Regions from separate parts of the Homo sapiens genome. Here all the other regions are linked to region 4. The links are contacts of gene promoters, found by promoter capture Hi-C in blood cells and fetal thymus (Javierre and others, 2016). All regions are on one chromosome and are shown on one strand. Each heading gives the region's core, a stretch centred on a gene start or on the middle of the fragment in contact. The rest is flanking DNA. Distances are from core to core; before and after follow the strand shown. Region 1 holds the start of LRFN3 (leucine rich repeat and fibronectin type III domain containing 3). Region 2 holds the start of TYROBP (transmembrane immune signaling adaptor TYROBP). Region 3 holds the start of KIRREL2 (kirre like nephrin family adhesion molecule 2). Region 4 has its middle 12 kb from the start of ZBTB32. Region 5 holds the start of ATP4A (ATPase H+/K+ transporting subunit alpha). Region 6 holds the start of GAPDHS (glyceraldehyde-3-phosphate dehydrogenase, spermatogenic).

Region 1 (4,758 bases), core at 1-2,500, 240 kb before region 4:
GGTACCGTAACCCGCAGCCACAATGCTCCTCCCAGCCCGTCCCCACCTTGAGGTTTCAGCAGCCTTACCTGAGCTAGAAGCAGCCCCAGGGAGCAGAGTCCTAGCTCCAGGGGAGTCAGAGGTCAGGGCTCTGGAGGGAGCATCTGGTCATGCTTTTCCTGTCCCCAAGGCTTCTGTAGAGGGACTGTGTCCTGACTCGGCTCAAATCTGTGGCAACGGAGTCTCCAGACCTTAATACTCGGGGTTCCAGACCCCTAAATATTGGGCCTCTAGGGTCCAGTTTTACGGGTCCAGTTTGGGTTGTTCAGGGTCAGGGTCTCCCAGGTCCAGTCTTGGGATGCTAAGCAGCCAAACGGTGGGGTTTAGAGTCTGAGATCCGATCCCGGGGTTCTGCATTCAGATATTGGGGTGCTGAGTCAAGATTGGGAGGTCTCAAGCCCCAGATTTAAGCACTCAGGTCTGCAGCAAGGACTTCAGGCCCAAACTCGGGTTCAGGCCCCTTGGAATCCCACAGTCCAGATCTTGGAATTTGAGGCCTGAATCCCAGGGTTCAGGTCCCCAAGAGTGGGTTCCAGGGTACAGTACTGGAAATCCAGTCCCAGATTTCAAGGTCCCAGGCCCAGAATTCAGAGTTCAGCTCCAGGCTTGAGGTTTTAGATGTCAAATCTTGGGGTTCTGCTCCAAATATTGGGGTCTGTGTTCCAAATTGTGGGGTTCCGGCTCCAAATATTGAGGTCCCAGTGACCGATGTTGAGATTCCAGCCCCATATACTGGGGTTCAGGCTCCAGATCTTGGGGTTCCACGGCCGGATCTCGGGGTGCTGGTCCCAGATCAGGGTTCCAGGCTCGGGTTTCCGGAATTCCCGATTCAATCTGGGGGTGCAGGCCCCCGAGGTGGAGGTTAGGGCGCGGGGTCCGGGGCGGCGGCGTCCCGGCTGGCTTCCTGGGCTGCGGCGGAGGCTGACTGGGAGGGAGGGGACCGGCTGCGGTGGGGAGGGGGGCGACCGGGCAGCCCCAGGGCCGGGTGGGGCGAGGCCTGGGAGCGGAGGGACGGTCAGACAGACTGGGACACGCGGGATGGGGGCACCGCAGCGCAGGCGGGGGCGCAGGGGGGAGGGGCCGCGCTCAGAGACCCCTCCCCCGCCGGGGCCGAGGCGGGGGCCGGGCGGGGGCCGGGCTGGGCGGGCCGGGTCCAGGCGCTCCCGCGGCCTCCTCGCCGGCAACCCAGGGCAGCGCGCGCACCGGCGCTTAAAGGCGCAGGCTCCGCGCGCACCCGCGCTTAAAGGCGTAGGCACCCGCCCCTTCTCTCAAAGACGCGCCCCGGCCCCACCTCCCATGGAGTCGCACTGGCGCTGCTGGGAAAGAGAATCCCTGGATACAGAGAGACTGAGACAGAGAGACAGAGAAGAACGGAGATACAGAAAGGCAGACAAAAAGATGGGCAGGCTTAGATTGATGGATAGAGAGGAGAAAATGGAAAGAGGCAGAGAGACAGATTGAAACACACACATATTCGAGACATGGAAATGCACAGAGACAGCGAGACACAGAGAGTGATGGAGAGACAAGAGATAAGGACAAGTCAGAGAAAGACAGAAACAGAGATAGAGACGTGCGTGCGCGCGCACACACAGACACACACATACACACTCACACGCTCTAAGACGCAGCACCTGGGCTGTGAGAATGGTATGTGTGTATGTGCATTCAGTAACTATTCCTAGCCTTGAGTGTAGCGCTTCATTCCAGAGCCACTGGCCCCCCAAACCTGTCTCTTTCTGCCCCCCTTATCTCAGCACCACCTCCCTGGAATGTCCTTTCCACGGTTGGAGTTTCCTTACCTGGCCATGCCCAGCAATAGGCTTGATCTTTCAGGCCAGAGGGGCTCCTTCCCAAGGCTCCTTTCTCTGCCTGCAAGAGGGAAAACTTGTGCCATCTGGGATTAGGGAAAGACCTCAAGACACACTGACAGCCGGGGGCGGTGGCTCACGCCTGTAATCCCGGCTCGTTGGGAGGCCAAGGCGGGCGGATCTTTTGAGATCAGGCGTTGGAGACCAGCCTGGCCAACATGGAGAAACCCCGTCTCTACTAAAAATACAAAAATTAGCCGGGTGTGGTGGCGGACGCCCGTAATCCCAGCTACTCGGGAGGCTGAGGCAAGAGAATTGCTTGAACCCGGGAGGTGGAGATTGTAGTGATCTGAGATCCAGCCATTGCACTCCAGCCTGGGTGACAGAGTGAGACTCTGTCTTTAAAAGAAAGAAAGAAAGAAAGAAAAGCAGAGAGGGATGCCTTGCCTTGCAGGAGCCAGGCCAGGTGTCCTTGCAGTGCAGCCCACCAGGATCACCCGGGGGCACCATAGATCTCCAGGTCCCAACCTCAGAGTTTCTGGTTCAGTGGGTCTGAGGTGGGACCCAAACATTTGCATTTTTAACGAGTACCCAGGTGATGCTAATGTGACTTTTCAAAGACCATACTTTTTTTTTTGAGACAGGGTCTTGCTTTGTCACCCAGTACATTGGTGCAATCATAATTGACTGCAACCTCAAATTCCTGGGCTCAAGCAATCCTCCCACCTCAGGCTCCAGAGTAACTGAGACTACAGGCATGCATCGCCATATCCAGCTAATTTTTAAAATTTCTTGTAGAGACAGGGTCTCAATATGCTGCCCAGGCTGGTCTTGAACTCTTGGCCTCAGGCAATCCTCCCTCCCAGGCCTCCCAAAGTGTTGTGATTACAGGTGTGAGCCACTACACCTGGTCAGGGACCACATTTTGAGAACAGCTGGGCTGAACCAGGGCTATCTGCACTGCACACGGAACTGTCTACCACAACAGCTATGCTAAAACCTGGTGGGTTGAGGGCATGTAGCACCGCAGATGTGTACCAAAGAGACAAATGTATTTAGAGACATAAAGAGGAATTCAGTCTATAAGGGACTTAAACAATGCAACAAGCAAAAAACAAATAACCCCATTTTATTATTATTTTATTTATTTATTTATTTTTGAGACAGAGTCTAGCTCTGTTGCCCAGGCTGGAGTGCAGTGGTGTGATCTTGGCTCACCGCAAGCTCCACCTCCCGGGTTCACGCCATTCTCCTGCCTCAGCCTCCCGAGTAGCTGGGACTAGAGGCGTCTGCCACCATGCCCAGCTAATTTTTTTGGTATTTTTATTAGAGACAGGGTTTCACCATGTTAGCCAGGATGGTCTTGATCTCCTGACCTCGTGATCTGCCCGCCTCGGCCTCCTAAAGTGCTGGGATTACAGGCGTGAGCCACAGTGTCCGGCCTATTTATTTATTTATTTTTTTAGACAGAGTCTTACTTTGTTGCCCAGGTTGTAGTGCAGTGGCATAATCTTGGCTCACTGCAACCTCTGCCTCCTTGGTTCAAGTGATTCTCCTGCCTCAGCCTCCCAAGTAGCTGGGATAACAGGCACCTACCACCATGCCTAGCTAATTTTTGTATTTTTAGTAGAGATGGGGTTTCGCCATGTTGGCAAGGCTGGTCTTGAACTCCTGACCTCAGGTGATACCCCCCACCTCGGCCTCCCAAAGTGCTGGGATTACAGGTGTGAGCCACTGCGCCCAGCCCCCATCTCTTTTTTTTTAAGACAGAGTCCTGCTCTGTCGCCCAGGCTGGAGTGCAGTGGCATGATCTCGGCTCACTGCAATCTCCACCTCCTGGGTTCAAGCTATTCTCCTGCCTCAGCCTCCCGAGTAGCTGGGATTACAGGCATGCACCACCACGCTTGGCTGATTTTTATTTTGAGACGGAGTCTCACTCTGTCACCCAGGCTGGAGTGCAGTGGCGTGATCTTTGCTCACTACAACCTCCGCCGCCCGGATTCAAGCGATTCTTCTGCCTCAGCCTCCCGAGTAGCTGGGATTACAGGCATGTGCCACCATGCCCGGCTAATTTTTGTATTTTTAGTAGAGATGGGGTTTCACCATGTTGGCAAGGCTGGTCTTGAACTCCTGACCTCAGGTGATACCCCCACCTCGGCCTCCCAAAGTGCTGGGATTACAGGTGTGAGCCACTGCGCCCAGCCCCCATCTCTTTTTTTTTTAAAGACAGAGTCCTGCTCTGTCGCCCAGGCTGGAGTGCAGTGGCATGATCTCGGCTCACTGCAACCTCCACCTCTTGGGTTCAAGCTATTCTCCTGCCTCAGCCTCCTGAGTAGCTGGGATTACAGGCATGCACCACCACGCTTGGCTGATTTTTATTTTGAGACGGAGTCTCGCTCTGTCACCCAGGCTGGAGTGCAGTGGCATGATCTTGGCTCACTACAACCTCCGCCACCCGGATTCAAGCGATTCTTCTGCCTCAGCCTCCCGAGTAGCTGGGATTACAGGCACGTGCCACCATGCCCTGCTAATTTTTGTATTTTTAGTAGAGATGGGGTTTCACCATGTAGGCCAGGCTGGTCTCAAACTCCTGACCTCAGATGATCCACCCACCCCAGCCTCCCAAAGTGCTGGGATTACAGGCGTGAGCCACTGTGCCTGGCCATTTTTAAAAAAATTTTTAGTACAGATGGGTTTTCACCATGTTGGCCAGACTGGTCTCGAACTCCTGACCTCAGTTGATCCGCCCACCTCAACCTGGGATTACAGTGCTGGGATTACAGGCATGAACCACTGTGCCCGCCCTTTTTTTTTTTTCTTTAAGAGAAATGGTCTTGCTTTGTCGCTGAGGCTGCCATGCAGTGGCATGATCATAGCTCCCTGCAGCCTCAAACTCCTGGGCTGAAGG
Region 2 (4,653 bases), core at 699-3,198, 220 kb before region 4:
CCTCAGCCTTCTGAGTAGCTGGGACTACAGGTGCCCACCACCATGCCCAGGTAATTTTTTGTATTTTTAGTAGAGACCGGGTTTCACCATGTTGGCCAGGATGGTCTCGATCTCCTGACCTCGTGATCCGCCCGCCTCAGCCTCCCAAAGTGCTGGGATTACAGGCATAAGCCACCGTGCCCAGCCTAATTTTTAGTAGAGATGGGGTTTCACCATGCTGGCCGGGCTGGTCTTGAACTCAACCAGGCATTATTCTAATAGACCTCACAATATCCTCACAAATATCCCAGCAGCCTGGCCTCCCTGCTCCAGTCCCTGCCTCCACAGTCTGCTCCCCACCTGCGGCCGGAGGGAACCTGTGAACCCCTGAGTCAGGTCAGGGCCCTCCTGGCTCAGAGCCCTGCTCTGGTCTCTGACTGCCCCCTCGCCCACTCTGCTCCAACACATTGGGTGGCCTGGTGTGCCCGGGAGGACCTACAGGGTCTGTTCCCTCCATGCTCGCTCTAGACACAATGGGAGAGGCTTGGGTTTTTAAGGGAGGGGACTCAGCCAGGCCTGAACAGTGGTGACCGTGGGCTGAGCTGGGACCTGACCCTCCTCCAGGCTCCAAATCTCCTCTCCTCCCTTCCCCCACAGGCCACTGGGCATCTGCCCTGTGACCAGAATCCAGTTTCCCCTTTTTTCTCCTAAGCCCAGGCCCAAGGAGCGGTGGGTGTGACGTGTGGATGGGGGAGGGGGGCTTCCTGCAGCTGTCTCATCCTCCAGCACCCTAACCTCAGGTTCCTCCTTCCCCAGCCCCAGGCTCCAGCTGGGGGCTAGAAGTCCCCGTCTCCTTGGGGTGGCCTCCCTTGGGCCTTGCTCCCAGCCACTTCCTCATTCAGCAGGAGAGCCAGCCACCTGCCTCTCCCCAAGCCGCCAGCCGTGCCTCTGTGTCTGTGCCACTGCCTTACTCTCACCTTTCTCAGCTTTGCCGCTGTTTTCTCCTTCCCCATCTTTCATCTTTGTTTTTCCCCCTGACTCTTCCCTAGTCAAAAACCTGATTTTGGGTCTTGGGTTCCATTTCCACCTTGATTTGCTGTGCAGCCTTAGGCAAGCGTCTCTACCTCTCTGAACAATGGGGATGATAAGAGCATGTGCCCTAGAAGGGCATTGCGGGGACTGAATGATTTAACGCTTGGGACAGAGTGCCTGCATGTCATTAGTGCCCACATGCTGCTGGCTCTTTTAATATCCTTTAAACAGCACAAGTTTCTGATGATTAAATAATCATCATCATAGCTGATGCTTTTAAAAAGCTGACAAGGGTCAGACCCTGGTCTAGGAACTTTAATTCATTTAATCCCCACAACTCTAAAAAGTAGGTCCCATTTTACTCCCAATTTTACAGATGAAGAAACTGAGGTTGGAGCTGGGTGCGGTGGCTCACACTTGCAATCCTAGCACTTCGGGAGGCCAAGGTGGGTGGATCACCTGAGGTCAGGAGTTTGAGACCAGCTGGCCAACATGGTGAAACCCTGTCTCTACTAAAAAAAAAAGAAAAAAAAATACAAAAAATTAGCCGGGCATGGTGGCAGGCGCCTATAATCCCAGCTACTTGGGAGGCTGAGGCAGGAGAATCACTTGAACCCGGGAGGCAGAGGTTGCAGTGAGCCGAGACCGTGCCATTGCACTCAAGGTTGACCAGCCAGGAAGAGGCAGAGCTGGTTTCAATCAGCCAGAGGAAGGTCATGACACTGACCCTCCTGTTAAAACGATGTCTGACCCCTGACTGGGGACGGAGGTGAAGTTTGTGCTTCACGTACCCTTTGCCCTTCACGTCTAGTTGCTGGGGGCCTGTGGCATGGCCCCTGGGTGTCTGGGCCTGATTCTTTCTTGGGTTTTGTTTCTGTCTCTCCTCCCCTGTCTCCTCCTCCCTTCTGCCACCACCCGCCTCAGACTTCCTCCTTCACTTGCCTGGACGCTGCGCCACATCCCACCGGCCCTTACACTGTGGTGTCCAGCAGCATCCGGCTTCATGGGGGGACTTGAACCCTGCAGCAGGCTCCTGCTCCTGCCTCTCCTGCTGGCTGTAAGTGGTGAGTTAGGGGCTTCCGTGGCTGCCTCCCGGGTCCCTGGGCTCAGCTTGGGGCAGGGCAGGGAGTGGGGTGGAACGAGAGAACCAAAAGTGGGTGTTGGGATGGGAGCAGGTCCCCAACCTCCCAAAGCCTGTGGGTTTCTCCCAGAGCCCAAGCCCCCAAGTTTTGTCGTCCGCTACAAGCAGGGGAGAAGAGACATCTAAGTGTGTTGCCACAGGACAAGTTGTGCAGAAGTAACGCACATAGTCCGGTGGCCCAGACGCCAGCCCCCTGAGTCCCGCCAGACACGCTCTCCCCCTTGCTAACCTCTTGGCTGTCAGGATCCACCTTCCCTGGCTTCTAAACTTGCCTCCCCCACCCCCGTCATAACTCTGTGCCTCAGTTTACCTTCTTTTTCCTCCTCAGGTCTCCGTCCTGTCCAGGCCCAGGCCCAGAGCGGTAGGCCTAGACCCAGCAGTCCCTCTCTCTACCTCCCAGAGACCTCCCTGTCTCCGTCTCTCCCACACCCTTTCCAAACCTCCCTGCCGCTGACCCCCCTCCCCACAGTTCCCAGCACACACTGACCTCCCCTGACCCCTGTGCTGCAGATTGCAGTTGCTCTACGGTGAGCCCGGGCGTGCTGGCAGGGATCGTGATGGGAGACCTGGTGCTGACAGTGCTCATTGCCCTGGCCGTGTACTTCCTGGGCCGGCTGGTCCCTCGGGGGCGAGGGGCTGCGGAGGGTGAGTGGGGCTAGCAGGGGACATCCTGAGGACTTGCCTAGATGGGGGTGGGGGGCTGGGTAAACTCCCAGATCTCAAACATCCAAAGGGATGGTAATGGAGGTGCTGATTTGGAATGACAAAACACCCTCAACTCACCACTCTGCCTGTCTCTGCACCCCACAACACCCCTCACCTCCAGCAGCGACCCGGAAACAGCGTATCACTGAGACCGAGTCGCCTTATCAGGTGAGAAAACCAGACTGTCCTCCTCACATTTCACTCCTGCCAGGGATATCTGCCCCAGATACTCCTTCATGCCATCAGAGGGACCTCAAAGCCACTCTGCCTAAAGCACCCCCAAACCTTGAAGGCACATGGGACATCTGTCCAAAACTGGGCCGAATGATCAACCACAAGCTTATGGTCAGCTTAAAATGTGTGAAGAGGGGCTGGGCACGGTGACTCAAACCTGTAATCCCAGCACTTTGGGAGACAGAGGCGGGTGGATCACTTGAGGTCAGGAGTTCGAGACCAACATGGTGAAACCCTGTCTCTACTAAAAATACAAAATTAGCTGGGCGTGGTAACGCATGCCTGTAATCCCAGCTACTTGGGAGGCTGAGGCAGGAGAATCCTTTGACCCAGGAGGCGGAGGTTGCAGTGAGCCAAGATCACGCAATTGCACTCCAGCCTGGGCAACAAGAGGAAAACTCTGTCAAAAAAAAAAAAGCGTGAAGAGTTAAAAAGAAAAAAAAAAGGGTGGCTTTGCCTTTGTAAGTGTAAACACAGGCCTTGCCAGAAGTCAGGCCAGGAATTTTCTGGAAGAAACCCAGCCCTAGGACGACTGATTTCTGGGAGACGCTCTCAGTAGGGCAGAGAATGTCATTCAGCCCTACCTTGGTAACTCTAAAGAGAGGAGTCCTAGAATCTCTTTTTTGGGTTTGAGGACCCTTCATCCCTTTGAGAAACTAAGAAAATCTAGACTCCCAGAAAAATCTACACAAAAAATACAAAATTGTGCATATAATCTGAGAGCAGTGTAAATGTTCTTTATAATTAAAAAAAATTTTTTTTTGGCCAGGCATGGTGGCACACACCTGTAATCCCAGCACTTTGGGAGGCCAAGGTGGGTGGATCACGAGGTCAGGAGTTCAAGACCAGCCAGGCCAGGATGGTGAAACCCCATCTCTACTAAAAATACAAAAATTAGCTGGGCATGGTGTCATGCGCCTGTAATTCCAGCTTCTCAGGAGGCTGAGGCAAGAGAATCGCTTGAACCCAGGGGGCGGAGGTTGCAGTGAGCCTGGGCGACAGAGTGAGACTCCATCTCAAAAAAAAAAAAAAGACAGGGGTCTCACTATGTTGCCCCAGCTGGTCTCAAACTCCCAGTCTCAAGTGATCCTCCCGCCTCAGCCTCCGAAAATCTTGGGATTACAGGCTCAAGCAACCATGCTGGTTGAGTATTCTTGAAGCTCTTTTTTCTTTCTCTACTTTAATTTTTTTTTTTTTTTGAGATGGAGTCTCATTCTGTCACCCAGGCTGGAGTGCAATGGTGTGGTCTCAGCTCACTGCAACCTCCACCTCCCAGGTTCAAGCGATTCTCTTGCCTGAGCCTCCCGAGTAGCTGGAACTACAGGTGCATGCCACCACACCCGGCTAATTTTTGTATTTTTAGTAGAGATGGGGTTTCACTATGTTGGCCAGGCTGGTCTCAATCTCCTGACCTCGTGATCCGCCCACCTTTCCCTCCCAAAGTGCTGGGATTAGAGGTGTGAGCCACCGCGCCCGGCCTTAATTTTTTTTTTTTTTTTAAAGTAGAGATAGGTTCTCACTATGTTGCCCAGGCTGGTCTCAAACTCCTGGGCTCAAGAGAT
Region 3 (4,684 bases), core at 1,924-4,423, 160 kb before region 4:
TCAAGGCCCAGCTTTCTCTTTCCCCAGGGACCCCAGCTGTCTGTCCTCTCCTGCTCGGAGTCTCACTCTGCTGCTGAGTGGCATGATCTCGGCTCACCGCAACATCTGCCTCCCGGGTACAAGTGATTCTCCTGCCTCAGCCTCCCAGGTAGCTGGAATTACAAGTGTGTGCTACCACGCCCGGCAAATTTTTGTATTTTTAGTAGAGACGGGGTTTCGACATGTTAGCCAGACTGGTCTCGAACTCCTGATCTTAGATGATCCGCCTGCCTCGACCTCCCAAAGTTCTGTGAGTACAGGCGTGAGCTACCATACCCAGCCCTCTCCTGCTATCTTAGATCCAGGAGTCCAGGCTCCAGTTTCCTCATTCCCCAAGGGCCACAGTCCCCTCCTTCCTCATACCCAGGAGTCAGGGCCCCACACCCCTCTTTCCCAGGGCCAGCTGCACTCACACTGCAGGCTCAGTGTGATAGCTGTGTCTCTTCCTGTGGGCAGGGCCTGGCTCCGGGCCCGGCAGACAAAGGTGGCTCCATCATCATGGCTGAAAGGGGTCAGGGTTAAGGTGCTCTCCACTGACCCAGGGGTCCCTTCCTTCAGCAGGGTCTGGAGGGAAGGATAAGAATAATAATGCCATCTACCCATCAGGGGTGTCCAATCTTTTGGCTTTCCTGGGCCACATTGGAAGAAGAATTGTCTTAGGCCACACATACTAACACTAATGATAGCTGATGAGCTAAAAAATTACAAAAAAGTCTCATAATGTTTTAAGAAAGTTTATGAATTTGTGGTGGGCCACATTCAAAGCCATCCTGGGCTGCATGCAGCCCATGGGCCGCAGGTTGGACAAGCTTGCCTTACTTATATAGTGCTCACTATGTATTGGTCACTCTTCTGGGCATTTATAGGTATTTATTTATTTAATTCTCACAATACCCTATGACATGCATGCTACTATTATCCTGATTGTATAGATAAGGCAACTGAGGCACAGAGAGGTTAACTAACTTACTCAAGATCAATCAACTAGCAAGTGGCTGAGACATAATTTGAACCCAGGTAGTCTGGCCCTAGAATCTTTACCCTGCATCATATTTCAAGAGTCCAAACCCATGAACCTCTGCCCTCCCATGTCTTCTTCTCTTCTGGATGAGCCTGTGGTCAGAGTGTAACCCAAGTTTCCCTCAATGGGCAAAGGCTAGCACAGGAATTTGGACCTGACCTGATGGAAGGTGGCTCCATCCAACAGGACCCCATCTCGGAACCACAGCAATTCAGGGGTAGGGCGGGCATCCCCACGGCTCCGACATGTCAGGTTCGCAGGAACTCCAGCAACCAGAGACACAGAGGGGCCGCCCAGCACCTGGGGGGCTTCTGGGGGGACTGCAAGGTGGATTTGGGGTCAGAGATGGATCCTGATCTTCTCAGCTCCAATTGACCATGCCCCTGGGCTCCCTGGGCTCTGCTACTCACAGCTAGTACGGGCTGCCCTCTTGGGCTCCCAGGGGACAAGTGGGCGAGGTCCTTACCCAGCACGTGCAGTTGGGCTGGTCTGGAGCGGAGGCCTGCTTGTGTAGCCTGACATTCATATGATGCTTCATCCTCTAGCTCCACGGGCCTAATGTGGAGGTCATGCTGGCCATTGGCTGCATTCCCTGATATCCAGTACCGGGACCACCCTGGAGTCAGGGAGAAGGCAGTCAGCACACCATGGTTCTGAAATCCTGGCCTCAGGCCTCCATCCCCAGACATCCTCCACCAGAAAACTGGCCCACACATTTGGTGGTAAGACACTATTAAAAAGTGTGTACTGGGCCCAGAGAGACTCTAACTCCCTCCCAACCCAGAGTCACTGCAAACTTAGGGGTAATAAAGTCAGGAAGGAAAGCAAGAAAATGATTGCCATAAAAATTAGGTTAGATACTACTTCTGGAGTGAGGGGGAGGGGGCTATGATAGGGGAAAGGAACACGGGGTCTTCTGGGGAGCTAGCAATGGACTTGGGTATTGGCTGTGTGTGTCTATTTTATTTGGTAAATCTTCCATTTATATTTACTGTACTTTTTTGCATTTATGTTCTCTTTTTTTTTTTTTTTTGAGACAGGGTCTCACCATTGCCTGAAGTGCAGTGGCTTGATCATGGCTCACTGCAGCCTTGAACTCCTAGGCTCAAGCAATCCTACCACCTAAGCCTCCTGAGTAACTGGGACTATAGATGCACACCACCATACCCGGCTAATTTGTTTAAAATATATATATACATTTGTGTAGAGATAAGGTCTTGTTATGTTGCCCAGGCTGGTCTCAAACTCCTGGTTTCAAGCGATCCTCTGGCCTCAACCTCCCAAAGCGTTGGGATTACAGGCGTGAGCCACTGCACCTGGCCTATGTACTATTTTGCAATAACATAATAATTCCCAAACTCCGTGGGTCACCCCCAAAGAAGCAGCTCAAAAATCAGGACTCCTAAATGTTTACCCGAGCCCATCAATTTCCCAAACTTGAAAATGTCAAAATAGAAACTGCAGGTACAGCCGAGCCCAGCAACTCTCCCCCTAGCCAGCCCGTCCCAGCGTGGAGAGAACACTCTTACCTGGTAGGTCCCTTTGGCCCCCTAGGGCCAGCCCACTCTTAGTCCACTGAACTAGCCCCCAGTAGGCGCCCAGAGCACACGGCAGCCGGGCTTCCTCCCCCAGCAGCACCACCAGGTCCTCTGGCTGTTGCAGGAAATGGGGCGACGGGCCTAGGAGAGTTCGGGGCAGCAGGGCTGAGCTTAGCACCTTCAGGGGCCTCCTCATTCAGGACCCAGGAGTCCCAGCCCCCAGCTCCCTTCTCGCTAGTGAAGAGGCAGCCCGCAAGCAACTCCCCACCCCCACCCCATATTCCTCCGCTCCCCTCGTGCGGTACCTGCTCTCCCTCTGAAGCAGAAGAGGAGGACGAGGAGGGCGGGGACCCGCATCCTGAGCATTCGTCCCCCAAGGTTCACGAGATTTGCCGTCGCACTGGCCTTCCCGTCAACTTCTTCCTCTCAAGCACGCCTCCTGTCACCCTGGCCCGGAGCCCCCTTCACGCTCGACTCTTCGCCCAGCCTAGTCTCTGGCCTGGAGTCCTCCAAGTCTGCTCATCCGCAGCCTCTGACGCTCTGAAACGCCTGCCAGTTCCGCGGCCTGGGTCTCTGGGAGACCCCAAGAGGGCCCGATCCCGCTCGCCCCGCCCGGGTCCGCCCCCCGGGAGCTCCGCCCTCTTCCCGTTGAGAAACTCCCGCGGCTGAGACGCGGATGAATGGGGGACGCAGGGCGGGATCCCCCGGCGGGTGGGCGCCCCCAGCTCAATTGGGGTCTGGGAGCCGGAACACCTGGGTTCGAGGAGGGAGGGGGTCCCGGCTGGGTTGGACACCTGCGCCCTGCCGGGGTTGAGGGGCAGGCAAGGGGTGAGGAGGAGGGAAGGGAGAGAGTGGAAGAAACTTGCTCAGCCCAGGTCCTAGAGGGACTGCGCTCAGTGGAAACTGAGCTATAAATGGGAGCTCCTGGGGCCTCGCCAGTTTCCGCGCCCTGGGGGATGCGGGGTCCGGGGCTCCCCCGGGCCTGCGTGTCGGGAAGAGGGCACACCGATACCTGGGGGACAGTTGGGACCCCTACCTCGACTCCCCCAGCCTCAAAACCCCTCCTCAAAATATCCCTCTGTTCCCTTGTTATTGCTGCAAACTACAGCACGTCCTAAGACCCAGGAATCCAGGCCCTCGGCCCCTCCTTTCCCAGGACCCCGCAGTCCCAGCCCAACCCCTCTCCCCACTCGGCCGGCCGGGCCCCTCGGCCTGGTTGCCCGGCGACGGCTGGGAGGCGGCGGTGCCGGGCCGGGGCAGGCAGGGAGGCTGGGAACCGCGCAGCTTGTCCTGACGGCTCCATGCAGCCCAGCTGGGGCGTTCCCACGCTGCGCAGCTGGCCGAGCAGGTGGGAGGGACCCCGAGCAGCCTGAAGGAGGGCTGGGGGGCTGGGACCCTGATCTGACATTCCTGGACCTGTAAGAACTGGAGGGTCCACATTCAGATTCTCCACTGTTCTTAGGCTCAGACTCCGTGTCCCTAAATGGGGGAGTGGGGTTGGGAGTGGGGGTTGGACTTACAGGGTTATAAGGGACTGGTGGTTCAGGCCTTTGCTGGCTGAGACGCTGATGGCCTGATCTCCCGGTTCCTTGAGAGGCTGGAGACTCAAGGTGCACTCAAGTGCATGGTGCACTTGGAAGAGGGTGACAGGGGTCAGAATATCTGGTCTTAAGTCTTAAGAGTCGGTGGATCTATCTGCCAATCTCTCCCCACCCCCACACAGGCCCAGGAGGATTTGGAAATCAGACCGTGAACATCTGTCCTAAGTCCTGTGTGTATGTGTGTGTGTGTGTGTGTGTGTGTGTGTGTGTGTGTGTGTGTGTGTGTGTATGGGGAGGTGCGGGGGTGGGTAGTGTGGCCAGGAGGATCAGAGGCCCAAATTCCCGAGTCCTTGGAGAGAAGGGACTGAGACCCCAGGGTCTGAGAGGGGAGGGATCTGGGGGCCTACACTCCCGGCTTCTGTGTGGCTTATCTAGTGCCTGGATTTTGAAATAGGATGGACATGGGGCTGGAACTCCTGAGTCTTAGGGAGGAACTCAAGTCATGGGGCTGTTTTTCCAGGCACTTGACGCCGCTTCCCCTTCCT
Region 4 (4,379 bases), core at 774-3,273:
TTTTTGAGACAGGGCCTTGTTCTGTTGCCCAGGCTCCTGGCCTCAAACAATCCTCACATCTCAGCCTCCCAAAGTGTCCTCAATTTTCTGAATGGATTTTTATGAGAGGAACTTTAATACCAGGGATCCTATTTTGGTCATTTTGTCCAGCAGGGCTGGGAGCAGCTCTTCAAAAAGACCATTTTCTTGTCCCTTTACCTTCCCTGTTTTGCATGATTCTGTTTCCATTTGTAGAGGATCTGAGAAGGCAGCTGATTCTGTGAGAAACAATGATTCTACTTCATGTTTTAAATAGATCTGTTGGGTTAAGTGACAAGTCCCTAGCTAGACTCAAGAAGGCACTGGAGAGCTATGGTCCTGCCACTGTACTCCAGCCTGGGCGACACGGTGCGATTCTCATTTTCTCTCTCTCTCTCTCTCAGACAAAGTCTCCCCCTATTGCCCAGGCTGGAGTCCAGTGGTGCTACCATAGCTCACTGCAGCCTCGAACTCCTGGGCTCAAGTGATCCTCCTGTCTTGGCCTCCCAAAGTGAGGGATTACAGGTGGGATTACAGGTGTGAGTCACTGTGCCTGGCTGAGACCCCGTCTTTTAAAAGAAAGGGGAAGGGGGAGGAGAAGGGGTAGGAAGAAGGAGGAGGAGGAGGAAGAAGGCGGAGGAGGAAAGAGGAGGAGAAAGAGAAAAAAGGAGGAGGGAAGAGGAGGAGGGTGAAGGAAGGAGAAGGAAGAAGGAGGAGAAAGGAAGAGGGATGAAAGAAAAGAGGAGGGAGGAAGAGGAAGAGGGAGGAGGAGGAGGAAGGAAGAGGAGGAGGGAGAAGGAGGAGGGAGGAGGAGGGAGGAGGAGGAGGGAGAAGGAGGAGAGGGTGGCAGTGGAGGTCACTCCCTATAATGTGGAGCATAGCAGCCACCTGCTGGTCACAGCGCAGTAGGAAGAACACAAAGCCCTGGAGTGAGGCAGAGGGGCCCTGGCTCCTCAGTGGCTCTCCAGCGCCCTCTATTGACAAAGCCTAACCTGGCACCAGATGACAAATGGAACTGAGAGGTAATAAATTGATAACCCACAGGTAAGTGATGGGGCCCCTGCTATTAATAAAAACAACAGTAATAATAACGACTACCATGGAATTCTCAGTGCTGTCTGTGTCATTTATCCCGGAATCGCTGGTGAAGGTTGATGGGGAGGGGGGATTGTGGTCCATTTGCCTCCAGGGTCGGCTCACCCTTCCCTAGGCTCAGGCTTAGGGTCTGAGCCTGCTCTGGGCAAGCACCCTCTCCCTCCTCCCAGACCAGACCCTATAGATGGAGCTGACTCCATCCCTGCTCCAAGGGCAGGCGTGTGCCCCGGAATCTGCACTTTCCCCAGCCCCACACGTGATGGCACAGCACAGTGTCAAACCTAGACAATGAAAAACATTCCAGAGGGGGCACCAGGCCCTCTCACCGTTTTTTGCTTTGTTTTGTTTTGTTTTTGTTTTTTGAGATGGAGTCTTGCTCTGCCACCCAGGCTGGAGTGCAGTGGCACGATCTTGGCTCACTACAACATCCACCTCCCAGGTTCAAGTGATTCTTCTATCTCAGCCTCCTGAGTAGCTTGGATTACAGGCACATGCCACCACATCTAGCTAATTTTTGTATTTTTAGTAGAAACAGGGTTTCGCCATGTTAGCCAGGCTGGTCTCGAACTCCTGACCTCAGGTGATCTGCCTGCCTCAGCCTCCCAAAGTGCTGGGATTACAAGTGTGAACCACCATGCCCAGTCATCTTTTTTTTTTTTTTTTTTTTGAGACTGTTATCTGGGCTGACAGAGTCAGTGGTGCCATCTTGGCTCACTTCAGCGACGACTGCCATACTCAAGTGATCCTCCTGCCTAAGCTTCCTGAGCAGCTGTGATGCAGGTGCTTGCCACCATGGCCAGCGATTTTTAAAAATTTTTTTATTGTTTTGTAGAGACAGGGTCTCACTATGTAGCCTAGGCTGGTCTCGAACTCCTCAAGCGTTCCTCCCGCCTTGGCCTCCTAAAGTGCTGGGATTACAGGCGTAAGCCACCGCGCCCCCCCGCCCGGCTAGGTTTTTGTTTTGTCTTTCATTCTTTTATTTTTCTCCTTAGCACTTATTAGCCTCTAACATGTGTTTTTCTTATTGGTTTTATCTATTTTCCCCTCTAGAAGGTAAGCTTTATTTATTTATTTATTAAGCTCTTTTAAATCTGGGAAGAGTTCCTGTAAGCTTTATTATCTGATTCCCAGGAAGCTTGTAGCCATTTTTCTAACACCAGCCAAGGACGCGGGGACCAGAGAGGAGGAATTGGTGGGCGTGGGACACCTGAGGAAAGGGCAGGGGTGTGTGTTTTTACGTTTTAGTTAAAAAAAAAAAAAAAGAACCAACTTGCCCTCATGGAAGGAGTGTAAGCAAAAGTGGATGTAGTCAGAGGCATGTGCCTGGCTTGATTGCTATATAACACAGTTTCTTATTTCCATTCTGTGATCTCAGATGGTGAGAGAGAGAGCTTGGCTCAGTGGAGCAAGAGAGAGAAAGAGATACCTGGAGAGGTGGCAAGGGGCCAAGCCACACGGGCCCTCAGTGCGAGGTGAGGAGGGCGCTGGAGAGCCGTGGAGGGTTAGAGGCTGAGGAGGGATGCAGTCACCTGGGGTGTGGGGGGAACAGCCATCAAATGGCTGCCTGTCCCTCAAGGGGTCCGGGCCCTGACATAGCCCTGACCTCTTTGCTCCCCTCTTACCCACAGGAGCCGGCCTCTGAGTTTGGGGGCTGGGGCGGACAAACCTGTCCTGCAGGCAGGCCCGCCTGGGTGAGGCCACGCTGCTGCCGGTCTGACTGAGCCACACTCTGCAGGTATATGGTAGGATGGAGCCCGAAAGCCAAGTGGCAGATGTGGGTCAGAGATGGCGGCCTACCTACCTGACTGCCCAGAGGTCAGAGGTCAGGTCAAACCCCGGCCTCCCATCTAGCAAGTCCTGGCCTATTATTATTATTATTGAGACGGGGTCTTGCTATTGCCCAGGCTGGAATGCAGTGGCACCATCACAGCTCACTACAGCCCCTACCTCCTGGGTTCAAGCGATCTTCCCACCTCAGCCTCCCGACTAGCGGTTACTACAAGTGCGCACCACTATGGCCAGCTAATTTTTAAATTTTTTGGAGAGATGAGGTCTCACTATGTTGGCCAGGCTGGTCTGGAAATCCTGGCCTCAAGCAATCCTCCTGCCTCAGCTCCCAAAATGCTGGGATTACAGGCGTGAGCCACTGTGCCCAGCCCTGACCTGTCTTACTGAGAGGTGACAGCGTGCTGGCAGTCCTCACAGCCCTCGCTCGCTCTCGGCGCCTCCTTTGCCTGGGCTCCCACTTTGGCAGCACTTGAGGAACCTTCAGCCCGCTGCTGCACTGTGGAAGCCCCTTTCTGGGCTGGCCAAGGCCGGAGCCGGCTCCCTCAGCTTGCGGGGAGGTGTGGAGGGAGAGGCGCAGGCGGGAACCGGGGCTGCGCGCGGTGCTTGCGGGCCAGCGCCGAGTTCCGGGTGGGCGTGGGCCCGGTGGACCCCGCGCTCAGAGCGGCCGGCCGGCCCCGCCGGCCCCGGGCAGTGAGGGGCTTAGCACCTGGGCCAGCAGCTGCTGTGCTCAATTTCTCGCCGGGCCTTAGCTGCCTTCCCGCGGGGCAGGGCTTGGGACCTGCAGACCGCCATGCCTGAGCCTCCCCTCTCCCCGTACCCCGTGGGCTCCTGTGCGGCCTGAGCCTCCCCGACGAGCGCCGCCCCTGCTCCACGGCACCTAGTCCCATCGACCACCCAAGGGCTGAGGAGTGCGGGCGCACGGCGTGGGACTGGCAGGCAGCTCCACCTGCAGCCCCAGTGCGGGATCCACTGGGTGAAGCCAGCTGGGCTCCTGAGTCTGGTGGGGAGGTGGAGAACCTTTATGTCTAGCTCAGGGATTGTAAATACACCAATCGGCACTCTGTATCTAGCTCAAGGTTTGTAAACACACCAATCAGCATCCTGTGTCTAGCTCAGGGTTTGTGAATGCACCAATCGACACTCTGTATCCAGCTACTCTGGTGGGGACTTGGAGAACCTTTGTGTGGACACTCTGTATCTAGCTAATCTAGTGGGGACATGGAGAACCTTTGTGTCTAGCTCAGGGATTGTAAACGCACCAATCAGCACCCTGTCAAAACAGACCACTCGGCTCTCTGTAAAATGGACCAATCAGCAGGATGTGGGTGGGGCCAGATAAGAGAATAAAAGAAGGTTGCCCGAGTCAGCCGCGGCAACCCGCTGGGGTTCCCTTCCGTGCTGTGGTAGCTTTGTTCTTTTGCTCTTTGCTATAAATCCTGCTGCTGCTCACTCTTTGGGTGCATACTGCCTTCATGAGC
Region 5 (4,660 bases), core at 1,746-4,245, 130 kb after region 4:
CCACATATGGCCTGCAGGCCATGGGTTGGACAAGCTTGCTCTAGATTATTTACTAGTGTTTTATTAATGTTAATTTCCTGAATTTGATTATTAGACTGTGCTTATGTAAGAAAATGTCCTTATTCATAGAAGACACATGCCTAAGTATGGATAAAGGGGATCCTGTCTCCAACTTGCTTCCAAATGATTCAGCCAAAAATTTAAAAAATTCTGGCCAGGCATGGTGGCTCACACCTGTAATCCCAGCACTTTGGGAGGCCAAGGCGGGTGGATCACTTGAGACCAGGAGTTCTAGACCATCCTGGCCAACATGGTGAAACCCCGTCTCTACTAAAAATACAGAAATTAGCTGGGCATGGTGGCGGGTGCCTGTAATCCCAGCTGCTTGGGAGGCTGAGGCACAAGAATTGCTTGAATCCAGGAGACAGAGGTTGCAGTGAGCCGAGATCATGACACTGCACTACAGCCTGGGCGACAGAGAAAGACTCTGTCTCAAAAAGAAAAAAAAAAAAAATCTATCAATCATCTATCATTTATGTATCCATCTATCTGTCTAACATCTCTTATCTATCTATTTTTCTATTTTTTTTTTTTTTTTTTTTTGAGACAGAGTCTCACTCTGTCACCCAGGCTGGAGTGCAGTGGCATGATCTCGGCTCACTGCAACTTTCACCTCCCAGGTTCAAGTGATTCTCCTGCCTCGGCCTCCCTGGTAGCTGGGATTACAGGCACACACCACCACATCCAGCTAATTTTTGTATTTTTAGTAGAGACAGGGTTTCACCATGTTGACCAGGCTGGTCTCGAACTCCTGACCTCATGATCCGTCCACCTCAGCCTTCCAGAGTGCTGGGATTACAGATGTGAGTCACAGTGTCCGGCCCAGTCCTCCTTCTAATGAACACCAAACAAATAAAAAGAAAACACAGTGTCAGGTTGGAGTAGGAGGTGTAAATACAGTGGGGTAAAGGAACAGAACACAGTGTGCAGTATTACAGAATGGACTCTCTGAAGAGGTGACATTTGAGCTGAGACCTGAAAGAGGTGAGAAAGCCAGTGCAGACATCTAAGGAAGGGGGCCCAGGCAGAAGGAACTGTAAGTACCAAGGTCCTGAAGCAGGAACGACCTTGGTCTGTGCAAAGTGCAGCAGAGAGGTCAGTGCCCCTGGAAACCTAGCAGCAACAGAGGCAGGACAGGTGACCAGGGCCAGATGTTGCAGGAAGGAGTGCAGAGTTTATTCTGAGTGGGAAGGGAAGGCTTTGGAGGGTTGTAAGCAGGGGGTGACACAAGCTGTTTGACATACATGGCTCAGAGCTGATGGGAGCCCAGTGAGCGAGTAGATTCACTACAAGGACAGCATGTGGCCCCACGCCACCTCTTCTTTGGAGGTTTCTTCTAGCAGGCTGGGGATGACCAGCCGTGTGGGTGCGGGGAGGAGCTCTGGCTGCCCAACAGCTTTGAGTTTCCCAGGTGACCTGCCCCAGTAGAGAAGGACATTGCCAGGGCAGTTATCTTATCAGGCGCACGCTCACCTGCTCCTGGAGACACGCTCACCCCATAACATACCAAGGTCCCCACCATTCCACTGGCCCAGCCCCTCGCTGCTGCTGCCCATGGAGGTCCCTACCTGAGGGATGAGGAGGGAGTCCCCAGGCCTCCTGGCATCTGTCACCCAACACCAAGATCAAGCCAAGACCCTTGGACACATCCTTTCCCCATGTTGCACCTTGGTTTCCCCATCTAGGGTAGGGACGGGGAATGGTTGAGAGCTGTAAAGTCTGTAGCTGGATATGTGAGTCCCTGTGAGCCTCAGTTTCCCCCTCTGCACAACAGGAATGATAGTTCTGCCTGCACAGGGTTTTTTGCAAAGACCCGTGAGGTCACACGTGCAGAGCCTGGCATGTGTGTGGTGCTGCTGCAGTGAAGTTTGGGTTTTTCCATTGGTGGTGCCATAGAAGAGCTAGGCTCTGGGGTCAAGCCCTGGGGTCAAGCCCGGGCTGGAACCCTGTCCCTAATTCTTAGACGTTGAAATCTTCTGCAAAGTCCCTGATGGGGGCTAAGAAGAGAATATTGCTTTACAGGGCTGCTGTTAGATGCTAAGGAAACCATTTGAGTGACACACAGAGCACACCCAGCCCATAGTGAATAGTCAGAGTTCAGTAAACATTCAGCCACCATAGAGAGTGTTGTAAGCATGGCAGGGCATGGTGGCTCACGCCTGTAATCCCAGCACTTTGGGAGGCCAAGGCGGGTGGATCACCTGAGGTCAGGAGTTCGAGACCAGCCTGGCCAACCTGGTGAAACCCCGTCTCTACTAAAAGTACAAAAATTAGCTGGGTGTGGTGGCATGTGCCTGTAGTCCCAGCTACTCAAGAGGCTGAGGCAGGAGAATCACTTGAACCCGGGAGGCGGAGGTTGCAGCGAGCTGAGATTGCACCACTGCACTCCAACCTGGGTGTCAGAGTGACACTCCATCTCAAAAAAAAAAAGAAAAAAAAAAAGAGTGTGGGAGCACCCTCCTCTTCCAGTTGATCAGGCACGTGCTATTTAGACTGAAAGAGGACACTCTGCAGCCAGCTGATCTGGTTCTCACTCCATTATGTCCTAGCCTGTGATGGAGCCATAGGAGAATGACTCAACCCCTCCATGCCTCAGTTTCCCCATCTGTAAAGGGTCTTGTCCCCTCAAAGGGTTATTGGAAGGTTAAATAAGTTAGCACATGGAAGCCGTCAGCACAATGCCCAGCGCATAATGAGCACCTTATGTTTGCTCTTCTTGTTGCTGCAGCGGTTCCCAGGGGCTCCCTGATCTCAGGGCAGGTTGACATGGGGGGATCTGGGCAGGGGAGGGGGGGGCCAGCCCAGGAGGGAATGCCTGAGGTGCCCAGGCCTAGAGGTCACCCCAAGGAGCCTGTAATCAGCTGTGGTCGGGCGGTTCTGCTCCACCCCACCGCCCTCCCTGGGTATATCAGGACTGGTCCGGGCCCAGGCTCTGTTGGGTGGGAGCACAGGCACCGGGCACCATGGGGAAGGCCGTGAGTGGGGCCCAGGGGTCCGGGGTGCAGTGGGGACAGGGGTTGCAGTGGAATCTGAGTTCTCCCTCCCTCCATCCTGTCCATTCCCAGGAGAACTATGAGCTCTACTCGGTGGAGCTGGGTCCTGGCCCTGGCGGGGACATGGCTGCCAAGATGAGCAAGAAGAAGAAGGCGGGTGGCGGGGGTGGCAAGAGGAAGGAGAAGCTGGAGAACATGAAGAAGGAGATGGAGATTGTGAGCTCTGACTGGGGAGGGGCGGGAGCTGGAGGGTAGGCTGGGAACCAGGCAGTGGGCGGGGAGGGGGCCAGGAGAGCCCAGAGCAAGCACCCTGCCCCACCCCACCACACAGAACGACCACCAGCTGTCAGTGGCGGAGCTGGAACAGAAATACCAGACCAGTGCCACCAAGGTGAGCTGGAGACTGGGAGCGTACAGAAAGGGGAGGAGGAGAGAGGGAGGGAGAGGGAGATGGAAGGAGGGAGATGGAGAGAGGGAGAGAGAGGGAGAGATGAAGAGAGGAAGATATGGAGAAATAGAGAGAGGGAGGGAGGCAGAAAAGGAAAGAGGGAGGGAGGGAGAGAGGAAAGGATGGAGGGAGGGGAGGAGAGAGGGAGGGAGATGGAGAGAGGGAGAGAGAGGGAGAGGGAGAGAAGGGAGAAAGCATTAGAGAGAAAGGGTGACACACAGAGACGGAGAGAGGAGTAGCTGAAAAGAGACAGCAAGACAGAGAAGGCAGAGACAAATAAGGAGAGAGCAGCAGGAGAGAGACACATAGAAAGGGGAGCGAGGAGAGAGAGACAAAGGGAGAGATGAAGGAGGGAGGGAGAGATGGGGTGGGGGCAGGAACCAAGAGACAAAGAGATGAGAAGGAGCAGGACAGACCAAGCTGGAGAAGGGAAACTGAAGCAGGGGGCTTTCCACGGGGTGTGCATGTGGAGGAAAGCCCCCAGGACCGCCTCGCCCTGCCCCTCTGTCCCAGGGCCTCTCTGCGAGCCTGGCTGCTGAGCTGCTGCTGCGGGATGGGCCCAACGCACTGCGGCCACCACGGGGCACCCCAGAGTACGTCAAGTTCGCGAGGCAGCTGGCCGGGGGCCTGCAGTGCCTCATGTGGGTTGCCGCCGCCATCTGCCTCATCGCCTTTGCCATCCAGGCTAGTGAGGGGGACCTCACCACCGACGACAATGTGAGCCATGTTGTGGGGACAGGCTCAGGACATGGGGACCTGGGGATGGAAGACACTGAGCCTGGGACTTGGGACAAGAGGGGCAGAGAAGGATGGGGATAGACGAACACGAAAGGCAGTCTCAAGACAGGGGTCATGGAGGGTGAAGGACATTGGGATATGGATGGGGCAGACCCAAGGACACAGGACACAGGGACACTGGGGTGAATCTTGGGTATGGGGACATAGGTGGGGGCATAAAGAGTATGGCAATGTGATACGTAAGAGATGGGATTTGGAGGCCGGGCGTGTAATCCCATGCCTGTAATCCCAGCACTTTGGGAGGCCGAGGCGGGCAGATCACCTGAGGTCAGGAGTTCGAGACCAGCCTGGCCAACATGGCAAAACCCCATCTCTACTAAAATTACAAAAATTAGCCAGACATGGTGGCGGGCACCTGTAA
Region 6 (4,520 bases), core at 423-2,922, 160 kb after region 4:
CTCAGTCCACACAGACCTGCTGCTCTGTGGATTTGAGCAAGTTAATGAACCTCTTGGGGCTGATCCCCCACCTAGGGGCTGCTGTGAGGGCGCAGTGAGATCTCGAGGCCCACACATAGGAGCTGATTTTAATAGAGGAGGGAAGTCTGATCCTACACAGATTCCTGAGGAAAGGGAGACAGCAGGGGGTGGAGAAGGGCTGGAAGGGGGTAGTGGGAGTCCAAGTTTTTGGCACCAAATCAAAGGCACCTGGGGGGTGGTGGGGCTGGGAGCCGGGGGCCAGCTGGCCTGTCTGTCTCCCTGACCTCTCCCTGTTGCCACAGACCTTGTGGCCTGAGGCTGGACTATAGGTGTTTCCAGTGGCTGTCCAAGTTCATGAAGGTGTTAGTGTTTATTGGTGAACTTGAGGATGTTTGCATCCTTGGGGGTTGTTTCTGCTATGGGAGAAAGGGGATTTGTCCACCTGGTTCAGGTGGGAATCTGAGCCCAATGGGTGACCCTTCCGAAGAAAACTCAGATGGTCCTCCTCTCCCAGCACTCCCAGCCTTGCACTCTCTTCCCCTCCACTGTAGGGGTGGGGTCCCCCGGTTGGAGAAAAGCCTGGGGGCTAGCTGGGTGCTGCCCCCAGCTCCTCACTGCGTCCTCCCACTGAATCCCGAGAGGCATGCGCTATAAACCCACTTTACAGAGGGGAAAATGAAGCCTGAGGCCACGGAGCAGTGATGCGCAGGGCAGGGGTTCAAGTCTCATGAGGCTGGTAAGCCTGTCTGCTCCTGTGTCTTCCAGGGTCTCCTGGACCAAAGCCCCAGCCCCACCTACCCCTGCGGCCCCCGCCCTTGGGAAGTGAGGGAACAGTGTGGGAATGGAGGCAGCCCACCGGAAGACCTGGTTCCTCCGGCTAGAGTGAGTGAGTGAGTGTGTGTGTGTGTGTGTGCGCGCGCGCGGGCGCGCCGCCCTTGTTGAGAGACTAAGGAAGTAGTTTGCCCTCTCTTAACCTCTGTTGGCCGCTCTGTAAACTGCGGGCACACTCTGGCCTTCTCAGGTGGTGGTGAGGCTTCCCTGAGCTCTCGCCTGCGAAGTGGTCAGCACGTCCCCGGCAAGGTTCCAAGTGTCCTTGTTTTGTGCATCACAGGGAGGGCAAAGCTCACCTCACGCGAAGCGCCATGAACATCACTTTTACATGGAAGCCCAGCACCCCTGGGTTCTCCCTAAGCCCCTCCTAAGCCCGCCCACTTCCCGCCACTTTCAGGCTGCAGCCTCCGATGGCCCTCGTTTCTGCTCTTTCTACCGCGTGATAGCGGCGCGAAGCCCACCCAGCCCTGGGGGCGGAGGCCCGGTCTCCCCGCCATGGCAGTAAACCCCACTCTGCCAGCACACTGGCGGGTGTGGAGGGAGGGAGAGCGGCTGATCCCCTGGTCCCTAGATGGTGCACACGCCAGGAAGGGCGGTAGGGATACGGCACAGGTGTGAGGGTGCAGACGCTCCCCACTACCCTTTCCACCCCTCCCCCGCGCCCTCCGCTGCCTCCCTCACCCGGGCACGGCTGTCGCAGCAACTGGACAACGGTGACATTGGTGAGGACGATGTCGCGCTTCGACATGGCCTCTTATAAGGTTATCATTGGCCTGGACCTGCTGTGATGTTACCGAGGTGCGTGCGGAGCGCCAGGGCTGTGGGTCCTGGGCTAATTGCCCTGATGTCACAGCACCCAGTGACGTCACAGTACCCAGTGACGTCGCCGAGGGGCGGCGCCCAAGCCAGAGGCCTGACACCATCGCATCCCATCCCCGTAGAGGCATGGGACGTCAGCACGCTATGCATCACCGTTCCACGGCCACGCACTGCCGTCTGGAATGGAATCCCACTTTTTAAAATTATCATTTGTTTATTTATTTTGAGACGGGGTGTCACTCTTTCTCCTAGGCTGGAGTGCAGTGGTGCAATCATGGCTCACTGCAGCCTTGAACTCCTGGGCTCAAGCGATCCTCCCGCCTCGGCCTCCTGAGTAGCTGGGACTACATGTGCAGCCACCACTGCAGGCTATTTTTACTTTTTATTTTTTTGTAGAGAGAGGGTCTCACTCTTTTGCTCAGGCTGGTCTAGAACCCTTGGGCTCAAGCGATCCTCCCACCTCGGCCTTCCAAAATGCTGGGATTACAGGAGCGAGCCACCACACCCAGCCTGGAATCCCACCTTTTACACTGTTCCTGAAAGCCCTTTCCTCTTCTCTGTCTCTTGAAGCACACAGGTTCCATGCTGTCCCTTGGATTCTCCAGTGGAGTGACTCTTGCTGCCTCCGTATGCCTGGAAGGCCCACCCAGGGCTTCCCTTGGCTGCCTCTTGGTTTCCCACCCTTTAAGAGAGGCTTTCTACACTCTGCATCTAAGTTCCCTCCTTTCTCTGTCACTGTCAGCCGTCACCCCCTTCCCAATTTCTGCCCATCTTCCAGGAAGCCTTGTCTGACTTCTCCATTCTGAGTTATGCTTCAGTGTGCAAAATTTCTCTAGGGCTACACTGTCTATGTTTTTATTTTCCTTAGAGCACATGTCTCTCTAAAAATTGTTTGTTTTCTTGCCAACTGTCTCTGTCCACCAGACTGTAAGCTCTGAGAGGACAGGGACGTCATCTATGTCACTTCTGTATCCCATTGACAAGAAAAGTGTTTGGCACCTGAAAGGTGTTTGTGGGCTGGACGCAGTGGCTCATGCCTGTAATCCCAACACTTTGGGAGGCTGAGGTGGGAGGATCATTTGAGTCCAGGAGTTTGAGACCAACATGGGCAATGTGGCAAAACCCTGTATCTACAAAAAATAAAAAAAGTAGCCAGGTGTGGTGGTGCATGCCTGTTGTCCCAATTATTAGGGAGGCTGAGGTGGGAGGATCACTTGAGCCTAGGAGGTCAAGGCTGCAGTGAGCTGTGATTGTGTCACTGCACTCCAGCTGGGAGACAGAGCAAGACCCTGTCTGAAAAAGGCGTTAGCCCAATAAACTATACCTGAATGAATAAATGTCAATTCCTCAGGTTTCATCTGATCGCTAATCTTTTCTTTTCTTTTCTTTTTTTTGAGACAGAGTTTCGCTCTTGTTGCCTAGGCTGGAGTGCAATGGTGCGATCTCAGCTCACCGCAACCTCCGCCTCCTGGGTTCAAGTGATTCTCCCGCCTCAGCCTCCTGAGTAGCTGGGACTACAGGCGTGCGCCACTACACCTAGCTAATTTTTTTTTTGTTTTTGTATTTTTAGTAGAGACGGGGTTTCACCATGTTGGCCAGGCTGATCTCAAACTCCTGACCTCAGGTGATCCATCTGCCTCGGCCTCCCAAAGTGGTGGGATTACAGGCGTGAACCACCTCGCCCGGCCCTGATCGCCAATCTTATCAAACTCTTCACGTTATATCTTCTCGCAGCACCCATTCTTTTCCTTGTAGCTTTTCATGTAGTTTGTCATGATCTACTGATTGGTTTATTTGTTCGATGTCTCCCCCTTGGGCTCTAAGCCCCTCACAGGGCTCCTGTTCTTGTTTGTTTGTTCACGACTGTGCCTCCAGCACTTAGAACAATACAAAGCAGGTTTTCAATGAACGTCTGACAAAGAACAAGTGGACAAACAGCTCCCTCCCCTGCAGCCCCGGGGTAGGGGTTTGCTTGCACCTCAGTGACTCACAGGCAGGCACCATCACCTGCACAGCAGGTTGACACGCAGCTGTGACCAAGGTTCAGGGGGAGTGGGGGTTTGTGCCAGGAAGGAGTCACCATCCCAGAGAGGGATGGATGCAAGAAGGGGCAGAATGACATAACCTCTTCCTTCCGCCAACATCCATGAGAAATTCATTTGCCAAGCACCTGCCATGGGACCAGGGCAGGGTGAGGCTCTCCTGCTTTGATGGCCTGGGAGAAGAAAGTAAACTAAGTGTACAGGTGAGGAGGTTTTAACGAACCGAGACCAAAACACAGATGATTAATTAAACAAAGGGAGCTACATTTTGGTGTACAATCAAGGAGGTGAAAAATATAACCTCAACAAAACCAGGATTCAAAAGGGGCTGATTTTGGCTGGGTGCAGTGGCTCACACATGTAATCCCAGCACTTTGGGAGGCCGAGGCAGGTAGACCACCTGAGGTCAGGAGTTTGAGACCAGCCTGGCCAACATGGTGAAACTCCATCTCTACTAAAAATACAAAAATTAGCCAGGTGTAGTGGCATGCATCTGTAATCCTAGCTACTCGGGAGGCTGAGGCAGGCGAATCACTTGAACCTGGGAGGCGGAGGTTGCAGTGAGCCGAGATTGCCACTGCACTCCAACCTGGGCAACAGAGTGATACTTCATAAAAAAAATAAATAAAATAAAGAAAGGACAACTCCAGGCCATTCTCAGTTATGGAGCCAGATGCTGAAGTCCTGAATCGAATCGTGCCACATGGGAATAGAGAGACAGAGGAGAGGGACTGAGGCTGGCAGAAGATGAAAGGATGGGGTGGAGAGGGATAGAGAAGATGGAACACAGTTCAGGCCAGGCACAGT

The links. Contacts are between HindIII fragments. The CHiCAGO score rates a contact against its expected background, and 5 or more counts as called.
Region 1: a contact is called between the fragment with the promoter of LRFN3 here and a fragment that was not itself captured in region 4, in 16 of 17 cell types (erythroblasts, activated CD4 T cells, M0 macrophages and 13 more). The highest score is 16.9, in erythroblasts.
Region 2: the fragment with the promoter of TYROBP here is called in contact with a fragment that was not itself captured in region 4 in 13 of 17 cell types (activated CD4 T cells, total CD8 T cells, naive CD4 T cells and 10 more); the score reaches 14.0 in activated CD4 T cells.
Region 3: a contact is called between the fragment with the promoter of KIRREL2 here and a fragment that was not itself captured in region 4, in 13 of 17 cell types (M1 macrophages, M0 macrophages, activated CD4 T cells and 10 more). The highest score is 11.0, in M1 macrophages.
Region 5: a contact is called between the fragment with the promoter of ATP4A here and a fragment that was not itself captured in region 4, in 11 of 17 cell types (megakaryocytes, erythroblasts, naive B cells and 8 more). The highest score is 23.1, in megakaryocytes.
Region 6: a contact is called between the fragment with the promoter of GAPDHS here and a fragment that was not itself captured in region 4, in 3 of 17 cell types (monocytes, M2 macrophages and M0 macrophages). The highest score is 6.1, in monocytes.

Annotation. Positions count from the first base shown.
Region 1 is chr19:35,932,866-35,937,623 of GRCh38, reverse strand. LRFN3 (leucine rich repeat and fibronectin type III domain containing 3) reads right to left here and starts at 1,250. Exons shown (of 3, transcript NM_024509.2): 1 at 69-1,250. The HindIII fragment of the contact is 21,793 bases long and covers 1-4,758 here.
Region 2 is chr19:35,905,590-35,910,242 of GRCh38, reverse strand. It overlaps TYROBP (transmembrane immune signaling adaptor TYROBP), which reads left to right and starts at 1,948. Exons shown (of 5, transcript NM_003332.4): 1 at 1,948-2,075; 2 at 2,481-2,513; 3 at 2,663-2,797; 4 at 2,979-3,025. The coding sequence starts at 2,015. RefSeq lists enhancers at 432-541, 642-691, 842-971 and a silencer at 2,783-2,936. The HindIII fragment of the contact is 5,164 bases long and covers 1-3,198 here.
Region 3 is chr19:35,855,400-35,860,083 of GRCh38, reverse strand. It overlaps KIRREL2 (kirre like nephrin family adhesion molecule 2), which reads right to left and starts at 3,173. Exons shown (of 15, transcript NM_199180.4): 1 at 2,904-3,173; 2 at 2,590-2,739; 3 at 1,527-1,676; 4 at 1,220-1,380; 5 at 453-603. The coding sequence starts at 2,964. The HindIII fragment of the contact is 4,263 bases long and covers 851-4,684 here.
Region 4 is chr19:35,690,530-35,694,908 of GRCh38, reverse strand. No RefSeq gene overlaps it. Among named protein-coding and RNA genes, the nearest start is that of ZBTB32, 12 kb to the left of the region's middle. The HindIII fragment of the contact is 301 bases long and covers 1,873-2,173 here.
Region 5 is chr19:35,561,993-35,566,652 of GRCh38, reverse strand. ATP4A (ATPase H+/K+ transporting subunit alpha) reads left to right here and starts at 2,995. Exons shown (of 22, transcript NM_000704.3): 1 at 2,995-3,035; 2 at 3,126-3,269; 3 at 3,385-3,444; 4 at 4,015-4,218. The coding sequence starts at 3,024. RefSeq lists an enhancer at 1,339-1,840. The HindIII fragment of the contact is 9,853 bases long and covers 37-4,660 here.
Region 6 is chr19:35,530,608-35,535,127 of GRCh38, reverse strand. GAPDHS (glyceraldehyde-3-phosphate dehydrogenase, spermatogenic) reads right to left here and starts at 1,672. Exons shown (of 11, transcript NM_014364.5): 1 at 1,534-1,672. The coding sequence starts at 1,600. RefSeq lists an enhancer at 686-815. The HindIII fragment of the contact is 5,250 bases long and covers 1-4,520 here.